6 separate regions of the Homo sapiens genome follow, and regions 1, 2, 3, 4 and 5 are each linked to region 6. The links are contacts of gene promoters, found by promoter capture Hi-C in blood cells and fetal thymus (Javierre and others, 2016). All regions are on one chromosome and are shown on one strand. The core of a region is centred on a gene start or on the middle of the fragment in contact, and the rest is flanking DNA. Distances in the headings are between cores, read along the strand shown. Region 1 overlaps KIAA0232. Region 2 overlaps KIAA0232. Region 3 overlaps KIAA0232. Region 4 has its middle 12 kb from the start of KIAA0232. Region 5 has its middle 22 kb from the start of TBC1D14. Region 6 holds the start of MRFAP1 (Morf4 family associated protein 1).

Evidence for each region. The method cuts DNA at HindIII sites, captures the fragments that hold promoters and counts their contacts. A CHiCAGO score of 5 or more calls a contact.
Region 1: a fragment that was not itself captured here is called in contact with the fragment with the promoter of MRFAP1 in region 6 in 2 of 17 cell types (non-activated CD4 T cells and naive CD8 T cells); the score reaches 8.2 in non-activated CD4 T cells.
Region 2: a contact is called between a fragment that was not itself captured here and the fragment with the promoter of MRFAP1 in region 6, in 2 of 17 cell types (neutrophils and naive CD8 T cells). The highest score is 7.9, in neutrophils.
Region 3: a fragment that was not itself captured here is called in contact with the fragment with the promoter of MRFAP1 in region 6 in 2 of 17 cell types (neutrophils and naive CD8 T cells); the score reaches 9.2 in neutrophils.
Region 4: a contact is called between a fragment that was not itself captured here and the fragment with the promoter of MRFAP1 in region 6, in 3 of 17 cell types (non-activated CD4 T cells, neutrophils and naive CD8 T cells). The highest score is 5.3, in non-activated CD4 T cells.
Region 5: a contact is called between a fragment that was not itself captured here and the fragment with the promoter of MRFAP1 in region 6, in 1 of 17 cell types (naive CD8 T cells). The highest score is 5.1, in naive CD8 T cells.

The regions. Positions count from the first base shown.
Region 1 is chr4:6,863,814-6,866,911 of GRCh38, reverse strand. KIAA0232 reads right to left here. Exons shown (of 10, transcript NM_014743.3): 7 at 2,729-3,098. Among named protein-coding and RNA genes, the nearest start is that of TBC1D14, 44 kb to the left of the region's middle. The HindIII fragment of the contact is 2,026 bases long and covers 489-2,514 here.
Region 2 is chr4:6,819,099-6,821,986 of GRCh38, reverse strand. The region is part of intron 2 of KIAA0232; the gene reads right to left. Among named protein-coding and RNA genes, the nearest start is that of KIAA0232, 38 kb to the right of the region's middle. The HindIII fragment of the contact is 6,164 bases long and covers 1-2,888 here.
Region 3 is chr4:6,800,704-6,803,950 of GRCh38, reverse strand. All of the region lies in intron 1 of KIAA0232, which reads right to left. Among named protein-coding and RNA genes, the nearest start is that of KIAA0232, 20 kb to the right of the region's middle. The HindIII fragment of the contact is 7,315 bases long and covers 1-3,247 here.
Region 4 is chr4:6,769,224-6,772,116 of GRCh38, reverse strand. No RefSeq gene overlaps it. Among named protein-coding and RNA genes, the nearest start is that of KIAA0232, 12 kb to the left of the region's middle. The HindIII fragment of the contact is 1,922 bases long and covers 416-2,337 here.
Region 5 is chr4:6,886,455-6,889,397 of GRCh38, reverse strand. No RefSeq gene overlaps it. Among named protein-coding and RNA genes, the nearest start is that of TBC1D14, 22 kb to the left of the region's middle. The HindIII fragment of the contact is 6,064 bases long and covers 1-2,943 here.
Region 6 is chr4:6,639,150-6,641,963 of GRCh38, reverse strand. MRFAP1 (Morf4 family associated protein 1) reads right to left here and starts at 1,279. Exons shown (of 2, transcript NM_033296.3): 1 at 706-1,279; 2 at 1-234. The coding sequence starts at 1,101. The coding sequence ends at 718. LOC124900653 (a long non-coding RNA gene) reads left to right here and starts at 1,343. Exons shown (of 2, transcript XR_007058007.1): 1 at 1,343-1,444. RefSeq lists a silencer at 242-311 and an enhancer at 2,285-2,814. The HindIII fragment of the contact is 23,430 bases long and covers 1-2,814 here.

The sequences.
Region 1 (3,098 bases), core at 252-2,751, 220 kb before region 6:
ACCATATGAATAAATTACCTATTTCAGTTAAAATAAGTAACATGGTACAAGTTGGTCATCTTCACTACGCTGAATTCTGTATGGGCAAGGACAAAGTCTTATTCATCCAGGACACCTACTTTAGCAACAGGCATGTAAACAGGTACTCACTAAATGTTTGCTGAATTGAACTAAACTTTTGAAAATAATCATATTATTTTCATGCTCTTAGACACCAGTTCTATCGGAAATCCTACATTTTCATCATCTAAGTCTGAAACAGATGGGGTTCTACTGATCTTTAAACAGGCCTCCCAGATTGCTTCCTGAAAAGACTGTACTGACTCAGGAAAAGGGCCGGAAGCACATCCTCTTAAAAGCACCTTTCAGACTGACCAAGCAATGTGACAGAACAGAAAGATACAGGTTCTAGTCCCAGGCTGGCCCCAAACTGTCCCTTCAGGTCACTCAGCCTCCTGCACATCTCAGATGAATCTATGAAGTAAGCTTCAACCTGGCTTCTAAAGTATAACAATGCTGCCGAGAGAGCAGTGCTGACAACATCTAAACTATCAGACAATCCCAAAATGTCCTCTGGGAATTTTTTTGGCAGCTAAGACCTTTCAAGGAAACCCGGAATTCTGATAACACATAAATACATCAACATACTAGAAAGCGAAGGAATATGGTAGTGGTATGATGTAGAATCTTGCTTCTTTCCTCTTTTTCTTTCTTCCCAATCTGGAACCAGGTGAAATACAAAGTACATAAAGGAATATTTAAGGATGAAAAATGGGGCAATAAACAAACAGATAAAGGCTAACAATATTATTGGGTTTTTTCTTAGCAGTGTTTCAATGGGATTAAATTCATCCTCTACGGGTCTCTAGGTAGCTGATTAGAGCAGTGCCTCTCAAGTCGCCTGGGGGCTTCCTAGAATCACAGGCAAGCAGTCCCACACCTGGGCACTCTGATGCGACAAATAAGTAAGGCATGGTCCACAGCCACAAGGAGCTTATAGTCCAGGATATAAATAACTCATGAGAAATGAAAAATGCAATCAAAAAGAGGCATAAAGTGCATGAAAATTAAGAGAGGGGCAAAATTAATTCTGATGCAGAGTGGGGCTGGAGCAGGGGAGAGAGGGAATTAGGGAAAGTGTCAGTGAAGGAGGTGGTATATGAAATAAGTCTCATGGTATGGGTAGGATTTGGATGTGCAATGGTGGGTAGGGTGTGCAGGACAGTTGGGAGGAAGTGCAACACTCATCTGCTCTCTGGCCACAGGTGGCATGGCTTCTAAACACCTCCATCTCTTTTTTTCAATAAGCTGGGCCGGACGCGGTGGCTCACGCCTGTAATCCCAACACTTTGGGAGGCCAAGGCAGGTGGATCACTTGAAGTTAGGAGTTCAAGACCAGCCTGGCCAACCTGGTAAAACCCCGTCTCTACTAAAAATACAAATAATTAGCCGGGCGTGGTGGCGCATGCCTTTAATCCCAGCTACTTGGGAGGCTGAGGCAGGAGAATCACTTGAACCTGGGAGGTGGAGGTTGCAGTGAGCTGAGATCGCACCACTGCACTCAAGCCTGGGCGACAGAGCGAGACTCTGTCCCCAAAACAAAACAAAAACAAAAACAAAATTAAATAAACTATTTCTGGAGAAAGGCTAGGCACTCACATATCGAAAACAGTGGAAAAATGGGCAGACTGCTGTGCTTTTTTTGTGAAACAGTTTATTGTCTTAAGTGTTATTTCTTGTACAATCAGTTTAACCTTAAGCCATTTCTTGGGCATACAGTGGAGAGGTACAATGACTCTCATTAACACAACTTAATGTGATCCTCATTCCATAGCCTTAACATATAATCCACACAGCTTCTGGAATATGTACTTTGTATAAAGCAAGATACATCTGTATAGGTTCTGTAGAAGAAATTTTGTTGCATTTGGGCTGTGGGTGAATTTCTACATGTACCACAATGTATTTTTGAGAACTCCATAGAGATATAATTTGTTTTATATGTAAAACACAAGTTTTGATAAAGTGATCAACTTCTAAGAGTCAGTTAGACAGGTTTGCTACACTTTAATAGCAGCCACTTCCTGATTCATCAACTTTGAATGTTAGAACACTTTCATGTTAGGTTTTTGCTTTAAGCATAATACATGTATTTTTTTTTTTTTTTTTTTTTTGAGATGGAGTCTCACCCTGTCACCCAGGCTGGAGTACAGAACACGATCTCGGCTCACTGCAACCTTTGCCTCTCGGGTTCAAGTGATTCTCCTGCCTCAGCCTCCCAAGGAGCTGGGATTACAGGTGCCTGCCACCACGCCTGGGTAATTTTTGTATTTTTAGTAGAGACGGGGTCTCACCATGTTGGCCAAGCTGGTCTTGAACTCCTGACCTCAAATGATCTACCCACTTCGGCCTCCCAAAGTGCTGGGATTACAGGCGTGAGCCACTGCACCCGGCCAATAACATGCATCTTAAGACAACACATAGGAATCTTACATCCTGTGATTTTTAAAAGCTTTTTCTCTCCAGAAAAACTCTACTGTCTAGTTCAAATTCATAAATATCAAATCCATTTTAAGTCCTTACATGTAAAATTAGAACAATTTAAGTTTTAAGACATTTAAGCTAATTTCCCAATAATTTAACCCTATCTTTCATTGACTGGCATGTCTGTTCTTGGGTTAAACTCTGATCAAATCCTTTTGTCAAATACCAACACGCAGACACATACCTCTTCCAGCTGTCCCGAAGAAACTGGATTATCTTCATAAGCAGGAAACTGACAACCTGCTTTGCAACCACAAAAATTATTAATTTCTTCCTCGCATTGTGCCATTATTTTACAATTTGCTTCTGAGCTTTCTAAATCTATTTCCAGGGATTCATTCATGCTACATTCCAAACACTGATTTTGCTTTCCTACTGAAAGAATCCCAGTTGATTCCTCCTGGGAATCCAGTGATGTCTGAGCACTCTTTTCCATCCCAGATTTTTTTAACCTGGGAAGGAATTTTCCAGACTCAAGCTCTGATTTTCCATAGTAATGGCCTTCTTTCTCTGCATCTTCTTCCAAAGGTTTGAGATCTGCCTGCGGATCTTCA
Region 2 (2,888 bases), core at 17-2,516, 180 kb before region 6:
AATATAGCAAACAAAAGATAAGTATGACCTCAGTTTTCTTGCTGGAAACAATGCAAGTGAGCAGATAATGGAGCAAAAACTTTAAAGTACTAAAAGAAAAAAAAACTGTCAACCTAGAATTCTATACTCATTGAAAGTGTCTTTCAAAAAGATACTTGCACACTCGTTCGTATTTATAGCAGCACAATTTGCTATTGCAAAAATATGGTACCAGCCCAAATGCCCATCAATCAATGAGGGGATAAAGAAATTGTGGTATATGTATATACATATATATATATACACACACACACACACACATATATACATGTATATATGTATACACATACACGTATATACACGTATCTATATACACGTATATATATATAGATATGTGTATATATGTGTGTATATATATACACCATGGACTACTACTCAGCCACAAAAAGGAACGAAGTAATGGCATTTGCAGTGACCCTGATGGAACCAGAGACCATTATTCTAAGTGAAGTAATATAGGAATAGAAAACCAAACACTGTATGTTTTCACTCACAAGCGGGAGCTAAGCTATGAGGATGCAAAGGCATAAGAATGATACCAGTGGACTTTGGAAATTCAGGGGGAAAGGGTGGGAGACGGGTAAGAGATAAAAAGACTACAAACTGGGTAGAGTGTATGCCGCTCAGGTGATGGGTGCACCAAAATCTCAGAAATCACCACTAAAGGACTTACTCATGTAACTATCACCTGTTCCCCAAAAACCTATGGAAATAAAAAATAAAAATAAAAAGCAAAAAATTAAAAACTTTCAAAATGAAAGTGAAACAAATGCTTTCTCTGATATGCAAAAACTGAAGGAATTTATCGCCAGCAAATGCTATGGATTTAAATATCACCTCCAAGCCTCATGTTGAAATTTAACTGCCATTGTGATGGTATTAAGAGGTAAGACCTTTAAGAGGTGATTAGGTCATGAGGGCTCCAACTTCATGTCACAGGAGTGGGCTCCTGATAAAAGGATAAGTTCAGCCCCATTTCTGTCTCAAGCACTCTCGCCTCCTCTTACCCTCCCCATCATGTGATGCTTTCTGCCATGGCATGACCCTCACTACAGGCCAGTGCCATGCTTTTGGACTTCCCAGCCTCCAGGAACTGTGAGCCAAATAAACTATTCTTTATAAATACCTAATCTGTGTCATTCTGTTATAGCAACAGAAAACAGACTAAGACAGAACAAAATGTGGATCCATTCAAGGGAACAAAGAGCACCAGAAATAACAACATTTGTCTTATTATTTAAATATCTTTAAAAGACAATTGCTTAAACAAAAATAATACAAAACATTGTAGAGCTTTTATTTAATAACATACATATAAGTAAAACATAAGCCAACAGTAGGATAAAGGCCAGGAGTGGGGAAATGTAAGAATACTATTATTAAGTTCTTGTATGAAAATGGTTTATCATTTGAAGACAAATTCTAATAACATAGCTGTTAATAATAATGAATGTAAATGACCTAAACACATCAATTAAAAGGCAGAGATACACTGAATTTTAAAACAGCAACACCTAATTATATGCTGCCTATTAAAAAACAAACCCTCCACTTAATTTTTTCCACAGAATTCAAATTTATATTCCTAAATGTCAATCTGGTAGATGTAGCCTAAACATGCCAGCTTTTCCCCAAACTTCTCTACCTGCTCTACCCAAGTAAGATGTGGCGTCTTCTTTTTTCTTTTTAACTTTTATTTTAGATTCAGGGGGTACGTGTGCAAGTTTGTTACCTGGGTATGTTGCATGATGCTGAGGTTTGGGGTATGAATTATTCCATTGCCCAGGTACTGAGTACAGTACCCAACAGTTAGTTTTTTCAACACCTACTGCCTCCCTCCCTCATCACTATAGCAGTCTTCAGTGTTTAGTGCTGTCACCTTTACATCCACAAGTAACTGATGTTTAACTCCCACTTCTAAGTGAGAACACACAGTATTTTATTTTCTGTTCCTACGTTAATTCACTTAGGATATTATCCTCCAGCTGCATCCACGTTGCTGCAAAGGACATGGTTTCATTCTTTTTTTAATGGCTGCATAGTATTCCATGGTATATATGTACCACATTTTATTTATGCAATCCACTGTTGATGGGCACCTAGGTTGATTCCGTATCTTTGCTAGTGTGAATAGTGCCGTGATGAACATATGAGTACATGTGTCTTTTTGGTAGAATAATTTCTTTTCTGAGATGTAGCTAGTAATGGGATTGCTGGGTCAAATGGTAGTTCTGTTTTAAGTTCTTTGAGAAATCTCCAAACTGCTTTCCACAGTGGCTGAACTAATTTAGATTCCCACCAACAGTGCATGAGTGTTCCCTTTTCTCTGCAGCCTCATTAGCATCTGTTTTTTAACTTCTAATGACAGCCATTCTGACTGTTGTGAGATGTTAACTCATTGTGGTTTTGATTTGCATTTCTCTGATAATCAGCGATGTGGAACTTTTTTTATACATTTGTTGGCTGCTTGTATGTCTTCTTTTGAAAATTGTCTGTTCATGTCTTTTGCCCACTTTTTAGTGGGGTCTTTTTTTTCTTGTTGAACTGTTTAAGTTTCCAATAGATTCTGGATATTGGACCTGTGTCAGATGCACAGTTTGCAAATATTTTCTCCTATTCTGTAGGTGGTCTGTATATGAAATGGTGTATCTATTAATACTGTACACCGTTTACTCTATTGATAATTTCTTTTGCTGTACATAAGCTCTTTGGCTTAATTAGATCTCATTTGTCAATGTTCGTTTTTGTTGCAATTGCTTTTGAGGACTTAGTCACAAATTCTTTCCTAAGGCCAGAATGGTGTTTCCAAGTTTTTTTCCTAGGGTTTTTATAGTTTGAGGTCTTACATT
Region 3 (3,247 bases), core at 545-3,044, 160 kb before region 6:
TTGGATTGGAATTTTATGTTAATTAAAACCTTTCCCCTCAAAAATGACTATCTGTAGAGCCCTATAAGGATATCTCCTTAAAATTTCAGATATGTTCAAGTCACAAATACTATGTTACAAGGTAAATGTAAAGGAAGAAAATAGGTAGGAAAAATACCCACTGTATGGCTCAGAAAAGGAAAAACAAACATGGAAAGAAAATAGCTAACAATCCAAACATTAAACATAAAAATCCACTTCCAAATGACTCATGTCAAATATAAAATTGGTTATTCCTTTTTTATAAATTCTGGTCAAGTTCTTTAACATGAAATACTTGACTCTGAGGTTAGTAAAAAGTATTCTCTTTAAGTGAATATGAAATTAGACAACTCTAGAAAGAAATTACTATACTTGAAATTTTAATCAGGGTAATCTTATCCAAATGAATCCTTCAAGTATTTTCTAACTACCAGTAACTACGTAACTACTGGAATCTTCCAACTATTACCTAACTACCAGTAACCAGATAACTTGAGAGCTGTGTGACAGACCCTTGAACATTCATGTTTCAATGTTTGGCATTCATGTTTGATAATGTCAAAGATTTGTGTAATTTATCAAAAGTCACCCCCTACAAATCTTTCTCTTACCTTGTCTTCTCAATCTATATTTCCAACTACTCATGGAATATTTCCATTTGAACTTAAGGGAGCTGGGCTTCAATTTATATGAGAAAGTCCATATATATATATATATATATATATGCACTCATTTTAATTTCTTTCAAGAGGTAAAGTATTCTTCTGTCATCCAGGCTGGAGGTGCAGTGGTACAATCATAGCTTACTACAGCCTAGAACTCCTGGGCTCAAGTGATCCTCCCACCTCACCTTCCACAGTAGCAGGGACCACAAGCATGCACCCACCAAACCTGGCTTTTTTTTTTTTTTTTTTTTTTGGTCAAGACAGAGTATGTTGCTCAAGTATGCCCAGTATGTTGCCTAGGCTGGTCCTGAACTCTTGACCTCAAGTGATCCTTCCATCTCAGCCACCTAAAGAGTTGGGATTACAAGCATGAGCCACTGCCCCCAGCTATATGCACTCATATTCGACTATTACTCTTCTTTCAACCTTCTGTCATTTTTTCCTTCCTTGAGAGAACCTCACACCAATTAATTTCATTCCTCTGTGCTCCTTACATCACCAACATACCACACCTTGCTCTATACCTGAATCACCACTCTGTATTCTATGTTATAGCAAAATCCCCTTTCTGTCTTTATGTCCTTGGGGAAGACGTGAAGATGAAGCATTCTGGTTGGAGTCAACTTCCATCAGAAGAAAAGGTTAATTGTGCACTGTAACTCTGTTCGTACATAAGACACACACACACATAGTTATTTAGTAAGGGGGCTGGTGGGTTGGGGGGGGTTGAGAAGAGTCACAGAGAAAGAGAAAGAGACTTACCCCATATTTCTCCAGAACGCCAACCAATGAGTCAAATGAAATCAATCAAAAAATTTCTAAGAAAAATATTGTCCAACCATGGCACGCTGTGATGTACAACCCAGACCCTCAACTGAAGGCCATGCAGCCCCAGCTGCTGGGAGTGCTCCGTCAGCCCCTTCAAGTACTGCTGTGGCTACAGAGAACTGCCTCACCCGACATCTTGCCCTCTTCCAGGCAAGTCATCCTGACTGACTCAGAGAGCGTACAGGCCTGGCTACCCAGCCCAAGCCGGGACAGCTCCCACGGGCTATTCTAATGGGGTTGGCCAAGGCTATGCTATAATTGGGCATGCAAGGTAGTTCAACTTCTCCATTCCCTGAGTCTGGACCCTACGAGCAAGCCCTAATCAACATTCTGCATGCTAAATTGTCTGCATTTGCTTCCCAAAGTACCCGCCTTCCCAGAGAACCCAACTTGTGACACTCATGAAGGAACTAACAGCCCTATCAGGATCAAGGGCCCCTTTATTGCATAAATAAATACCCACCACCATTTAGTGGGTATTTATTATGTGCAATACACAGTGAGGGATACAAACTTTATCTGGAAGGTAATGGTGGCATGTATACAAATAACTTCTAAAGCTAAAAGAGTATGATTTCAGCACATGCACAAAATGATCATCCTCGCAGGCCCTGTATTTTTCTTTGTACTGCAAATAAACCAGAATCCACGTTTCTACTTTATGAAAACCCTATGTTCTACATTTAAAAACATGGATATGCTAATTAAAGTCCTAAGCACTGTAAGCCACTTAATAGCACCTTTCTCTTTTTTTTTTTTCCTTTTCGTCCTGTCACCCAGTCTGGAGTGCAGTGGAGCAATCATAGTTCGCTGCAGCTTGGAATTCCTGGGCTCAAGCAATCCTCCCACCTCAGCCTCCAGAGTAGCTAAGACGACAAGTGTGTGGCCATCAAGTCCAGCTTTTTTCTTTGGTAGAGATAGGGTCGCACTACATTGCTCAGGCTGGTCACGAACTCCTAGGCTCAAGCAATCCTCCCACCTCAGCCTCCCAAAGGGCCAGGATTACAGGCATGAGCCACCATGCCTGGCCTAGTGGCATCTTTTCAGTCTCCTATAACCACCATCCACTTATTCTTTGAACAAAGGTGAACTGAACAAAGGTGAAATGAATCTCTAGAACTGCATTGTCCAATGAATATGGTAGCCACTAGTGGCTATTTACATTTTAATTAATTAAAATTAAATAAAATTGAAAATTCAGTTCTTTAATGGCACAAGCCACATTTCCAGTGTTAATAGCCCCATGTAGCCAGTGGATACTGAATAGAAAAGACAGTGAACATTTCCATTATCAAACAAAGTTCTACTGGACACAACAGGTCTAACACATCAAGATTTGGGGAAATGCTGACAATTCCACATCCTGGTTCAATACCCAGCTGCTGAACTTAATTTCCTACAAACTAAGAAAATTACAAATTATCCTATGACCAAATTATCAAGAACTCTGTCTATATTTATATTTGTATTCCCACTACATTCCATGTTAATAAGCTGTTGGAAAAGCACTGCTGAACTGAACAAACCCTTAAGAACCTGCCTGCCCTTCCTAACTGGGCTCTTCGTATCACCCCCCTCACATAACCTTTCAGAGTGATGAGCCCAGGAGCCAACCTGGCTCTGCATTTTCTATGTGACCCAAAACTATATAAAATGTTACCAAATGACATTTCTGCCATTCTGCTTACTTCATTTACAGAATTCAAACAAGTATAATGAGCAAGGTCTTTTCC
Region 4 (2,893 bases), core at 127-2,626, 130 kb before region 6:
GATTCAGTGCAGTTTATTACAGAGACAGGGTCTGCAGAATATGACCCCCCAAAGAAGTGTACCTCCTAATCCCTGGAACCAGCGACTATGTTACCTTACCTGGCAAAAGGGACTTTGCTGATGGGATTAAGGCTATGGATCTTGAGAAGGAGAGATCGTGACCCCCTGCTTTATAACCTCCCTTGGCTCCCCATCGTCCCCACAGTCCCAGGCTCCCTGCTTTCCTAGCGCAACCCTCCATCCTGTCCCTATAGACACCCCAGCCTCCAGATGTACCCAGGTACTTACACTTCTCTCAATGGGACATGCTTGTCACACCTCTCTGCCTTTGCAAATGCTGGTCCCACTGCCTGGAAAGCCCCCCGCCACTCTGCTTAACAACTGTTTTCTCCAGTGTGTCCTCTTTCTGGAAGCTTACCTTGTGTTCCCCCAGGTGGGTGAGGGGGTCTCTCTTGCAATGCTCCACTGCTAGCCCTTTCGGGCCCCCACCCCAAGGTGCCGCACTGGACAAATATGTTCTACCCACCAAGCTATGGGCTCCTCTGGGGAGCAGCTTTGCCTGCCACAACTTCGCTTCCCGGGCACCCAGCCCAGGGCCTGGCACACAGGACGGCTCAGGGAAGGACTCTCCTCTGCAGAGCAGGAGTCATGGGAAAGGCACGCATTGCTGCCCACGGCCCAGCCACTGCCCTCTCAGACCTGGCTATTTTTATTTCTTTTCCCTGCAGAGCTCAGGCCTGTGGGGCAGGTTCTCAGACCAAGCAAGTGAGACCTGCCAGATGGACTGAAGACATCTGCTGATGCTGCCCCAGCCACAGGCCAGCAGGAGTGGCCGTAGGGGCTCCTCCTCTAGGGCACAGCCCCAGACCTCAGCCAGGGAGCTTGCTACAGGCTCAGAGCCACCAGGCACCGCAGGCGCTGATGCATCCCAATGCTCAGGTCCAGCTTTGCCATGTTCTTGCTGTATGCCCAGAAGTAAATCACGTCACCTTCTTGTCTCCTTGTCTTGGCACATAGTAGGTGCTTGTAGGTGGCACTTTCTATGCTGGACCCTCTATCCTCATCAGCTTCATAATTCTCAGCTTCAGTGACTGTGCCTGCAGTAAATGAGCAGCTGCTCGGCACTGTGCTAGGTTCCCCACTTTATGAATGAGGCAATTGAGGCTCAGAGAGGCTAAGTAACTTGGCTAAGGTCACACAGCTGGCTGGTGGCAGAGCCAGGAGTTAACCCTGGGTCTTTGGACCCCACAGCCCAAGTTCACAGCCAATCGGCTTCATGACTATGGCCCCTGTGATGATCCAACCCCAAGGAAGCTGCAGCCTTGCTCCAATCCCTCCAACGATACAGCATGACAGGTGCACAGAGCTGTCTCCGTGAGGTCCCCTTATTTTGTGGACAAGCCATAGGGAGGAATGTGGCTACTCACATGAGAGGGCCCCTGCCTTCCTCCTGGAGCCACCTGGAGTCACCACACCAGGCAGCTCATCCCTGCTTGGTGACCCAATGTACAGAAAGAGCAGAGCCTTGTCCTAAGTCACACAGCATGGGAGTGACACAGCCAGAACTGGAACACAGGCCAGCCCTGTCCTGCCCTGCCATACAAGAAAGGTGGCCTGCCTGCACCTTGTCAGAAGACCCGAAAGCATTGCTGAAATTCCAGTTCCTAAATCTATGGCTTGTGCATCTCTATGGTTCCATCCCCACCACTGCAACCCCAAGGATCCTAGGACAAGGTGTGGAACAAGGATGGACAAATACATGAAAGAATTCTTCAACTCCTCTGACATTGCGTTATTACTGATTTGAATCTGGACTCATAAAGTAAGGACGTTCAGTATGTCTAAATTCTGTGACACCTTGAGGTCCCTCTTGAATGGGAGGCTCCGCAGTGAGAGTCAGGAGACTTCTTTGAATTCGAGTTGTCACACGTACCAGCTGTGGGACACCTGAGAAGTTGCTTAACCCCTCTGAGCCTGTTACCTCATCTGTAAGCTGATTCTACCCTGGAGGAGGATGAAAGTGTGATAAAACCGAGGTAATAAAACCTACCATACAGGTCATAGGGCGAATGAAATCAGAGGTAAAAGCACCTGCAGATAAGGACAAAATCACAGCAGCCCTAAAATGCACCAGGCCCTGTTTCTGTATAGATATTGTGCGGGCTTGTCCTGGAGCCAGACTGTCTGGGTTCAAGGCCTGGCTCAATTGATCACTAGCTGTGTGACCTAAGGCACATCAGTTTGAGCTCTCTGGTCCTCAGTTTCCTTATCTGTAAAATGGAGGTGATAATATGAACTACCTCACGGGGTTGTGATGAGAATTACAACCTAGAAGCTTTACATGGAGCTTCTCCATGTAAAATGATTAGTACGGTGCAGGACCGGTCAGCTGTCAACAACATCAATAACACTAAGGAACAGACCCAGAGAGAAACAGCTTGGCCACAGTCACCCTGCTAAACTCCAGGATCCGTCCACCATCACACACAAGCCCACCAGCTGCACTTAGAAACCACCCACCCTCGGGGAGTGAGCCAGGCTGAGCAGTGGGCCCCTGAGACAGCTGGGGTGTTGGGGTGCTCCATCCTTGGGCCAAGCCAGGCCTGGGGACTCTGTTATCAGCACCACATTTAGTGCCTCGAAATGGGTGTGCCCCTATTGGTCCATACTGGGTGCAGCTGCTTTTGCCCATGCTGGGTAGTAAGCAGAGGGAGACCTGGGAAGAGAGTGGGGGTGGGGAGAGGAAGGGGAGCACACAGAGGCAGCAGCTGCTCAGAAGGGGCATCCCCACAACCGCAGCTGCACCCAGGTATGGGCCCCATCCTGTTAGAGGTTCAAACTCCGAGAGGGCCCCCGATACCCTGCTCTGGATGGCCGAATCCCTTGACTAGAA
Region 5 (2,943 bases), core at 13-2,512, 250 kb before region 6:
CCTGGCTTTGCGCACAAAGCGCGGGCAGCCTGTGGTGTCACCCTTGGGTCCCCAGCCTGCAGTCTCCTGGAGGACAGGCCTGTGCCCAGCCACATGCGCGGGTGAATCCTGAGCGCCCCAAGGGGGGTTCCCAGACTTTAGTTCCGCGGTGGCTTCCGGCTCCCGTCTTGAGGGTCTGAAGGTGTGGGACTTGGCCCCCTGGGAGTGGCGGCGGTAGCGGGGGCACAGCGCTGGTTTGTGGAGGCCACGGTAGTGGGAAAGCAGCACTGCACTTGGGAATCAGATGAGCCATCGGCAGACCCCGGCTCACACCTCTGCCGGGTGCTCCTGGGCCAGAACTTTGGGTTCTCAGCCTCGGTGACAGACACCCTGAGACTGCTGGGAAAGACGCAGAGATGATGGGCCGTAGGTAGATCTGCTCTACCCATAGCAGCTCGGTCAGAGCAGGGTAGACCCGAGGGCTCCAGGAACTCGTGGAGCGGGGACTGACCTGTCTCCCTGCCCAGTCCCAGGACTCACGTCTTCCTCCTCCCTCTAGGGCCCCGGGCAGGAGGGACAGCACTGCTGGTGCCCACTGTGAGGGCTGGGAGGGACCACGTGGGGACGGCAAGAAACCCTCAGGAGGGAGCCTGTATTCTATTCAGGGAAATGAGCGGACACTTTGCCTGCCAGTTCTCCTCCCCTAGCCCTGGGAGGGAGAAGGGTCCCCATCTCACAGTTGAGAGAGCCACTGGCTCAGGGTCACAGCTCACGAGGAGGGGGCTCTTCCTATCACCCCTCCTCAGGGGCAACATCCCCACACAAACTCACACATCAGGGGCTCCTGGCCTTAGCGCTGCTGAGGACCAGCATTTCGTGTGCTCCTCAGCCTCAAAATGTAGCCTCACCTGGAAGGGGAGGGTCACTGTCCCCACCTGTGACAGGGCCAGAGGGTGGGGTCCTCCCCACCCCTGGACTGTGATAGGAAGTGGGAGACCGTGTGCCTGCCCCCTCGCTGCAAGGCCAGGGCCCTCCCCACCATCCTCCCCAACGGACGTGGTGGCCAGAGCCCTCGGCCCCAGTGGGCACACTTGGCTCTGCTGCTGCCCTGGCCCCTGCCCTCTGGTTCAGCCACCACTGGGAGCCAAGGACAGCCAAAGGAGTTGGTCTCCTGTGTCGAAGGGATAGCGTGACCTCCCTTCAGGGCGAGATCATGGTGACAGCACTGTGGTCAGCACTCAAGGATGAATGGCCTCTGTGGGGCTGACCCCTGCTGACCCCCGCTGACTAGGCAGGCCTGGAGCTGCAGATCCAACAAGGGCCCTTAAAGGGCTCTGCTAGCACAGGGGGGAGGGCAGGGAGTGAGAGACCGCCTGCAAAGAGGCAACTGTCTCCTTAGTTACTGGACTCAGTGCTGCAACTTCTCTTTTGCATTTCCGTTTTTGCTTTTTTTGAGTCCAGTGTGAAAGGAAAATAAAAACGTGGGACCGTAATTCACTGTGCTAAAAGGAAATACTTAAGATGAGAATAGACTCATGCAAGAAGCTGCGTTTCCTTATGTTCTTAAGCAGATAGCTACAGCGAAAGGGCCAGACAGGCCAGGCACGGTGGCTTCACGACTGTAATCCCAGCACTTTGAAAGGCCGAGGTGGAAGCATTGCTTGAGCCCAAGAATTCACGGCCAGCCTGGGCAGCATGGTGAAACCTCTGTCTACAAAAAATACAAAAATTAGCTGGGTGTGGTGGCGCACACCTGTGGTTCCAGCTACTCGGGAGGCTGAGGCTGCAGTGAGCCAAGATCGAGATCACGCCACTGCACTCCATCCTGGGTAAGCGTGAGATCCTGTCCAAAAAACAAAACAAAACAAAAAGGCCAGCTATCTCCACAGGTAGCTACTCTGTGTTCACTGTATCTTACGTAAAGTGAGGATTTAGTGCGTACAAGTCAAATACCTAATTGACTACTCCCCTACCTGCTCCTTTTCTCTCGCAACCTGTGGATTCAGTCGTGTGACCACACCCTCCCCCTTCCCCCTCCAGCCCACTTTTCCCCTTTAAATACAGAAGCTCTCAAAATCATCTTTGGAGAAAGGCACAGACCTCTCTCTCTCAGGTGTGTCCTGAGTCTTGGCAAAATACACTTCTAAATTAATTGAGGTCTGTCTCAGGTACTTTTTAGTTTGCACTCTAGTATTTATGCAGATGGACTATTTTATGTTTATAACCAACCCTTAGGAGAGAGGTCCAGTTATGATCTCCATTTACATCTAAAGATACCAACGTGTGAGACTGAGTAACTCGCCCAAGGACACACAGCCGGGGCTGACACAGCAGGACTCCCTGCAAGTACGCAGACAATACATAACTTTTTTTTTTGAGACGGAGTCTTGCTGTCACCCAGGCTGGAGTGCAGTGGCGCGATCTCAGATCACCACAACCTCTGCCTCCCGGGTTCAAGTGATTCTCCTGCCTCAGCCTCCGGAGTAGCTGGGATTACAGGCGCCTGTCATTATGCCTGGCTAATTTTTGTAGTTTTAGTAGAGACGGGGTTTCACCATGTTGGCCAGGTTGGTCTCGGAACTCCTGACCTCAGGTGATCCGCCCACCTTGGCCTCCCAAAGTGCTGGGTTAACAGGCATGAGCCACCGTGCCCAGAGACAATACGTAACTTAATGAGTGGGATTTTGTGAGATGGAGGTTTCAGTGTTAAATGGACTCTGCAGTCAGTGCCCAAGGTGAATTCGGGCTCCAGCATCCACCAAGTGTGAGACTGCAAGTGCCTAATGCCCCATTGTGCCTCAGTTTACTCATCTGTAAAACAGAGCAGCTGTAGCTCCCTCATAGGGTTGCTAGTTAACACTCAAGAGCGCTTAGAATGCGTGGCAGCCAGTAAGCCCTCAGTGTCAGCTGTTGACTATGACTAGCACAGACAATAGCAACGCCAACCAAACGTTAGGTGGCAGC
Region 6 (2,814 bases), core at 30-2,529:
CCCTAATTCCTGTATGTGAGAGCATTTTCAAACAAAATTACTTCCCAAACAAAAACACGTTAACAATCGAAACTCATATTGAGGTCATCAACCACAGACCATAGCAGAAAACGTAGTGTTAAGTGAGACAGAGCATAGACAGGAAAAAAGAGAAAACAAAAGGCTCTCTGGTTTCGGCTTCTCCAGGGTGTCAGCCAATCTCCACCAGTTGACCAGAATCCATTGGCTGGAAACCTAAAGCACAATGGGAAGAAATTCATCATCGAGAGGTTAATCCCAGGCACAACGACCCCCAAACCCTCACGAACGCCACTGTGCAGGACGCCACCTCTTCTGGCCACCACCTGACTCACTCCAGTCTCTAGCAACGTTGACTTGTCCAACGTCTTCCCCGAAAATCCTCTATTTCCACCCCCGCTTGCTGGACGGCCCGGGACCTTGTCCGTTTCTGTTTCCTTGGCGACTCTGAGATTTATGACCCTTCCACTGAACACGCATCACGCCCAAACCCGGCCACTCTGATTATCCCACGCCGCCACCGTCAAAAAACAAAACACGAAGACGGGGCCCAGATCGGCCCTGACCCGAGCACGCCTTTATTCTCCCGCCCCACCCCCGATTCCGGTGCATCTCGATGAAATCATCGCTCTCGAAGAGCGGCCAAGCTGGGGCCGCTCCTCGGCCTGGCGCGGGTGCCCGACTTACCGCCGACCGCGCTCACGACGACTCGCTCTTCTCTATCCGCCGGACCAGCTCCACCAGCATCTCTGCCATCTTCGCAATCTCCTTGGCCTTCTCCTCGGCCTTCTCGCACCTCTTGGCCGCCCGGCCCTCGGCCGCGTCGCCCGGGTTCTGGAGGTGGTTGAGGGCGCTCTCCTCCGAGGCCTCCACCTGCGTTTTGATCTGGATGAGCATATTGTCCATCTCCCACAGCTTGCTCCGGTTCCGCAGGTACGCCCGCCCGTGCTCGCGCGTCAGCGACGCGATGTCCTCGCGCATCTCGTTGATGACCGGGAGCAGAAACTGCTCGAAATCCTCCTCGGGCTCCAGCACCTCCACTTCCTCCGGTTCCGCCAGCTCGACGATGTCCAGGGGCCGCATCTCTTCCCACTGCCTCGGAACCGCAATAGCGATGTCTGTTGGAGAGAGAAAACCGACACTCGCTATGCTTAGCAATAGAGAGCCCGAATATTCCTGAAAACTTTTACCCTTTTTCAACTTTTCTTCTCAGAGAAGCCACGGACAAGCGACTTACGCGCAGAGTAACGGCGAACAAAATGGAGTCCCGGCCGTCAACCAGCGCTCTGCGCGTTGCGGCCCCTTTCACGACACAGCCGGGCCTCTTTACGGTCAGGGGGGCGAGCTGCGGGCGCGCGCACGTCTAGAAAGAGAGGCACCGGCGGCGGCGTCGCGGCCGCACGGACGCGCACGCAGGCACGCGCAGGTACGGGACCGCACGCTCTCGCTCGTTCCTGCTTTCCCGTTACCTCTGTGCGTCACCCCTGTTTTACCCTGTGTTTGGAGGGTGGCCTCTTCTGGGTGTTTCCCTCCGATAGGGCTTCTTGAGCACGCGAGTTTACATTTTTTAAAAAGGCCTCCCGCACTTCCCAGGCGCGGTGGCTCACGCCTGTAATCTCAGCACGTTGGGAGGCGAGGTGGGTGGATGGCTTGAGGTCAGGAATTCGAGACCAGCCTGGCCGACATGGCGAGACCCCGTCTCTACCAAAAATACAAAAATTAGCCGGGCGTCGTGTTGCACGCGTGTAACCCCAGCTGCTTGGGAGGCTGAGACAATCGTTTGAAAACGGGAGGCGGAGGTTGCAGTGAGCCCATATCGCGCCACTGCTCTCCAGCCTGTGCATCAGAGTGAGACTCCGTCGCAAAATAAATAAATAAAATATAAATGAAAATTAAAAAGGGCCTTCCACACTAGAAGAGGAGGATCCTACGTGATAATGCAGCTACCCCAGGTGGACGCTTAAAGCCCCTTCCTTTCACGCAGGGGGACCTGAGTCCCCTCAGCCGTTTTATTTACTTTTTTTTTTTTTTTTTTTGGAGACAGAGTCTGGCTCTATCGCCCAGGCTGGAGTGCAGTGGCACGATCTCGGCTCACTGCAAACTCCACCTCCGGGGTTCACACCATTCTCCTGCCTCAGCCTCGCGAGTAGCTGGGACTACAGGCGCCTGCCACCGCACCCGGCTAATTTTTTGTATTTTTAGTAGAGACGGGGTTTCACCGTGTTAGCCAGGATGGTCTCGATCTCCTGACCTCGTGATCCATCCACCTCGGCCTCCCAAAGTGCTGGGATTACAGGCGTAAGCCACCGTGCCGGGCCTTATTTACTTATTATTATTTAAAAAGTTTTTTTTTTTTATTGAGGCAGGGTCTCGGTCTGTCGCCCAGGCTGGAGTCCAGTGGTGGGATCATGGCTCACTGCAGCCTTGATCTTCTGGCCTCAAGTGATCCTTCCACTTCGGGCCTCCCAAAGTGCAGAGATTACAGGCATGAGCCGTGCGCCTGGCCCTTTCTGCCTTTTTAAAGAGTAGTTTTCCTTCTTCCTTGGATGACAGTCAGAAGGGTCTGGGTGTCTTTTCACCAAACCGGCCTCCCCACACCCCAAGGTGGAGCCTGGCTGCTCCGTCCTGAGGCCCCAGCAGACCCATGTTCAGTGTGTGGTGCAAGGCGCTGTCCAGAGCCTCTGAGCCCTTCCACTGGATCCTAGGCTCTTTGGGGTCTTAGCTCTGTGGCCTTAATGCCCTAACGCCCTGGGCAGAGCTTGGCGCATATTGGTAAATTTGCCTTAACATCCACTC